Regions from separate parts of the Homo sapiens genome. Here region 1 is linked to region 2. Evidence: promoter capture Hi-C in human tissues and cell types (Jung and others, 2019). All regions are on one chromosome and are shown on one strand. Each heading gives the region's core, a stretch centred on a gene start or on the middle of the fragment in contact. The rest is flanking DNA. Distances are from core to core; before and after follow the strand shown. Region 1 overlaps SPAST (spastin). Region 2 holds the start of SPAST (spastin).

Region 1 (2,700 bases), core at 200-2,699, 60 kb before region 2:
CATGTGCAGTTTTTTTTATTGGATGTACATTTTAAACTTATTTGGGTAAATACTAAGGAGTAAGACTGCTGGACCATATGGTAAGAGTTTTGTAAGAAACTGTCAAACTGTCTTTAGTTCTGTAAAAAACTGTCCAACTACCTTCCAAAATGGTTCTACCATTTTAGATTTCCATCAGCAATGAATTAAAGTTTCTGCTGCTCCACATCCCTGCCAGAATTTGGTGTTGTCAGTGTTTTAGATTTCAGCCATTCTAATAGGGATGGCAGGGTATCTTGTTGTTGTTTTAATGCGCAATTTCCCTAACGACATGATGTTGAGCATATATTCATATGCTTGTTGTCATCTATCTATCTTCCTTGGTGAGGTGTCTGTTCAGATATTTTGCCCATTTATTAACTGGGTTGTATATTTTCTTATTGTTGAGTTTTAAAAGTTCTTTGTATATTTTGGATACTGGTCCTTCATCAGATAATGAATTTTGTAAAGTCTCCCACTCTGCTGCATGTCTTTTCATTCTCCTAACAGCATCTTACACAGAGCAGAAGTTTATAATTTAAACAAAGTTCAACATACTGATTTTTTTTTTCAAGGATCATGTTTTGGTATTGTACCTAAGAAGTCACTGCCAAACCAAAAATTTTTCTCATGTTATCCTAGATTTTCTCCTATGTTATCCTCTAGAAGTTTCAGTTCGCATGTTACATTTAGGTCTATGATCCATTTATTTTTGTGAAAGTTGTCAGGTCTGTGTCTAGATTAACTTTTTTGCATGTGGATGTCCAGTTGTCCTATACCATTTGTTGAAAAGGCTATCTTTTCTCCACTGAATTGTCTTTGTCCCTTTGCCAAAGATCAGTTGACTTTATCTGTGTGGGTTGATTTCTAGGCTCTCTGTCCAATTCTACTGATTTATTTGTCTATTCTTTTGCCAATGACATGCTGTCTTGATTAATGTAGCTTTACAGTAAGTCTTGAAATTGGGTAGTTTCAGTCCTCTGACTTTTTTCTTCTTCAATACTGTGTTGGCTGTTCTAGGTCTTTTGCCTTTTCATATAAACTTTAGTTTGCCAGTATCCACAAAATAACTGGCTGGGGTTTGACTGGGACTGCACTGAATCGATATATGAACTTGGGAAGAACTGACATCTCAATAATATTTAGTCTCCCTGTCCATTTACATGGAATATCTCTCAGTTTACTTAGATCTTTGATTTCTTTCATGAGTGCTATAATTCTTCTCATATAGATCTTCTACAACAAACTTTGTTAGAACTACACATATTTCATTTTATTAGTGTTAATATGAAAGGTATTGTGTTTTTTTTTTTGAGACGGAGTCTTGCTCTGTCCCCCAGGCTGGAGTGCAATGGCGCGATCTTGGCTCACTGCAACCTCTGCCTCCTGGGTTCAAGCGATTCTCCTGCCTCAGCCTCCTGAGTAGCTGAGATTACAGGCACCCGCCACCATGCCCAGCTAATTTTTGTATTTTTAGTAGAGATGGGGTTTCACCATATTGGTCAGGCTGGTCTTGAACCCCTGACATCAGGTGATCTGCCCACCTCGGCCTCCCAAAGTGCTGGGATTACAGGTGTGAGCCACTGCACCCAGCAGTATTGTGTTTTAATTTCAAATTCCAGTTGTTCACTGCTGGTAGATAAAAAAGCAATTGACTTTGTATATTAACTTTGTATTCTACACCTTGTCATAATCACTTATTAGTTCTAGGAGCTCTTTTTGTTGGTTCTTTGGGATTTTCTACATATGCAATCATGTTATCTGCAAACAAAGATATTCATCTATTTTTTTTTTTTAAATATAGATGGGGTTTCACTACATTGCCCAGGCTGGTGTCGAACTCCTGGACTCAAGCAATCTTCCTGCCTTGGCCTCTGAAAGTGCTGGGATTATAGGTGGGAGCCACCATGCCTATCCCTCAACTGTTTTTGACCTATAAAAACAGTAATTTCAGCCCAGGTGTGGTGGCTCATACCTGTAATCCCAGCACTTTGGGAGGCCAAGGCAGGTGGATCACCTGAGGTCAGGAGTTCGAGACTAGACTGGTCAACATGGCAAAACCCCGTCTCTACTAAAAATACAAAAATTAGCCAGGCGTGGTGGTGCATGCCTATAATCCCAGCTACTTGGGAGGCTGAGGCATGAGAATTGCTTGAACCTGGGAGGCAGAGGTTGCAGTGAGCCAAGATCATGCTAAGGCACTCCAGCCTGGGCAACAGAGTGAGACTCTGTCTCAAAACAAAACAGAAAACAAAACAAAACCTAGTAATTTCACATGGCTCAACCTAACAGAAAACAAAGTCGTCTCCTCCCACCCATTTTCTGGAACACCAATAGTCAAGCTTGTATTCTCCAAACAAGAGACTAGAAAATTCTTTTCTAGAGAAGCCAAATAACCCCAGAAAAAAAAGACTGACAGCTATAGCCATTTGGAGAAACCCAAATAAACAGTAGGCTTGCTGCTTGATCATCCTGTGATTAATGGGCTCTCACTATCAACAATTTACTTACTTACAGCACAGAGTCCTAATCAACTTTTTTATTGTTCCACGTAATATAAGTGGACAACCAGAATAACCAGACATTTGAGAGAAGCTTCCAATATGAAAAAGCTTAAGGCAAAAAGAAAAGAGGAGGAATCTTGAAGAAACAGATAATAAAGTAAACAAAAGAAAACTTGAC
Region 2 (2,700 bases), core at 56-2,555:
ATTAAAATCAAAGCAACAGGGGGAAAAGTTTTATGCTAAATATAACTTCATTGAAAAAGTATTCAGGAATCGTTGTACTGATAAAATGATTATCTTGATTAAAATGATGCAAATTCAACTGCAGTCATATGCAGCTATTTCTTTCAAAATTGTCACCATTTGTTCTTTTTTTCTGACACTACAATACTCTGCTTTCATTAAAAGCCAGTAAGGCGGCACTGCTTCTTCAATATCAAAACCTTTTGGAAACCTTGGTTCAGAGGAAGCTGCACACTCTTCACAGTGCTAGAAAGGATCAGTGTGGTCACTCTAGGACAAATGTCACTGTCATCAACACGTCTGGGTGTCTCATAGTGACCTGGGTCATGCAGAAGTGTGGGGGAAGGCTGGTGTCTGAAACAAAGTCGACAGCTACAGTGCCCTGAAAGGGGAGAGGTTTTAAGAATACTAGAAGATGAGGCTCCGACCTACGGGAAAGCAGTCTCCCGGGGCATATCAATTCCGGGGGTGCACCGTCCCCTCCCGCAGAAAAGGGACGCAGGTGTTGCCCTCCCCCGGCGACCCCACCGCCTTCTTCCCGGCGCCGCCGCCCCCTCCCCCAGCCCCCTAGTTACCTTTCTCATCCTCATCGATGCGCAGGGCAATGGAGATGTACTCGAAGGCCTGTTTGTGGAAGACTCGGACGCGCTCGGCCTCGCCGCCCGGCACCGGCGCCGGGGCCGAGGCCGAGGCAGGTGCTGGCGCGGCCCCGGAGCTCCTCTTGGCTGCCATGAGGGCGCGGGAGAAGCGCTGGCAGAGCCACACGAAGAGGAGCCCCAGGTGGAAGGCGACCAAACGCAGCAGCGCGAAGCCTACAAACAGCGGGTAGGAGAAATAGTACAGGTTCCGCTTATGCGGCGACTCGGGCGGAGGGGCCGGCCCGGCGGCGGGAGGGGCGGGGGCCAGGCAAGGGGGCGGAGGCCTGGGAGGCACCGGGTTGCTGGCGCCGCCGGAGCCTTTCTTCTTCCCTCGTCCACCCGGAGAATTCATTCACAGCTCTCACTGCCGCCGCCGCCATAACCCGCCTCCCGCAGACCGACGGGAACCAAGCGACGGCGGCAGCCACTGCTACGGCGGGGGCCACAGACCCCCGTGTGCCCGCCGGTCTCAGGAGCTCCGCACTGCCGCACGCTGCCCGCCGGCCCCGCCCCTTTCTCCTTCCTCGGCCAGGAGCACAACCCCTTCTCCTCCTGCAGTCGGTGGCTCGGGCCCCTCCCTTCCTGTCGCTGTCCTCTCCGCCGCCTGGTGGCTCCCAGCGGCGGCCGCGCACGCGCACGTCTTCCCGTGTTTTTCTCCGGCGCGCGCGCGCACGGCGCGTCTTTGTTGACCGGGGCCCCTGTACGCGTGTGCGGCCCCCGCCTCTCGGCTTTCCCACTCAACTACAGTTCCCAATGTGCAGTTCGGCTCACGTCGGCAGCCCTGGAGAGCTCCTGCCAGGAAGCCTTCGTAATCGATCCACGGAAGGGGGAATTGCGGCTTGGGGTCGCTCTGCTGGTTCGCTAGGCTCCTCTCTCAGTGTCGTCGTTTTCTTAGATTTCTTTCATCTTTTTCTGCCAGGCGACCTAAGTCTTCTCCGAAGGATAATTGGCCCATCTCAGAAGCAATGGATATCAATCTGGGAATTAAATTAGCCGGGCGTGGGGGCGCGCGCCTGTAGTCCCAGCTGGTTGGAAGGCTAAGGCCGGAGAATCGCTTGAACTCGGGAGGCAGAGGCTGCAAGTGAGCTGAGATCGCGCCACTGCACTCCAGCCTGGGCGACAGAGCGAGACTCCGTCTCCAGAAAAAATAAAATAAAAATTTAAAATCTGGGAATTATTTGAGAGGAAAGCAATTGTGAAGATAAGAAACTTCAGGTCACTGCAAACAACAGCAACAAAAATGTTAGCTCAGTGTGATGAGATCAACTAACCCAGGGGTTTAACTAAATTAGTGCATATTTAGATGTCTAATATGAAAGATAATTTATTTGAATAAGGGAAATCTTAGGTTTTGCATAGTTACCATCCCATAGTTTACTGAAGAATCTACACTTTTTTTTTAATCTACTCAGCATCCCTTCCTTTGGGAAACTACCTGCTTGTCTCTGCTCCCTGTATTCTAATGAGCTGCAAGCACAGAACCCAGACCGCAAAGGCGGAAGCAAACACTAGGTCAGTCAGATTCTCCTGGGACCTGGAATCTTGGCTGGAGACCCACCGAATAGAAAGTAACTGGAAACGAGTGCTCTTAAGAGCGGGTTTATCAATGCATCACATTGAGCTCCCCCAGAGCTGCTGGGTTCCTGACTGGTCACTTGGTTATGTAATCTATCCAATACACTAATCAGTCTGTTTCTCTGTTTCTCTCTTCCTCTCTCCTTTCCCCCTTCCTTCCTTTCGTCTTTTCCTCTCTCTCCCTCTCTCTCTATCTCCACGTCTTTTTTCTCTTCTCTTTCTCTTTTTACTTGAGTTAGCCATAATTATTTCTTGTTTCCTAAAACTAAGGAAGCCAAACTGATAAAAAGACTCCGTTATTTACAATGTGAGGTTTCCAAATGCCCCATGAGAGCTTCCAGCTTCCAAGAATCTCCACATTCTGCCACAGCTTTATTTTTTTATTTTTTGGACAGGGTTTCACTCCATTGCCCAGGCTGGAGTGCAGTGGCGCAAACAACATGACTCA

Evidence for each region. The method cuts DNA at HindIII sites, captures the fragments that hold promoters and counts their contacts. A contact is called where the count stands out against the background at its distance.
Region 1: a fragment that was not itself captured here is called in contact with the fragment with the promoter of SPAST in region 2 in 1 of the 25 tissues and cell types used here (hippocampus).

Annotation. Positions count from the first base shown.
Region 1 is chr2:32,121,893-32,124,592 of GRCh38, reverse strand. The region is part of intron 7 of SPAST (spastin); the gene reads right to left. Among named protein-coding and RNA genes, the nearest start is that of SLC30A6-DT, 42 kb to the left of the region's middle. The HindIII fragment of the contact is 5,069 bases long and covers 1-2,700 here.
Region 2 is chr2:32,062,161-32,064,860 of GRCh38, reverse strand. It overlaps SPAST (spastin), which reads right to left and starts at 1,305. Exons shown (of 17, transcript NM_014946.4): 1 at 615-1,305. The coding sequence starts at 1,029. RefSeq lists silencers at 442-571, 602-1,021, 1,082-1,221 and enhancers at 593-1,393, 1,442-1,511. The HindIII fragment of the contact is 21,143 bases long and covers 1-2,700 here.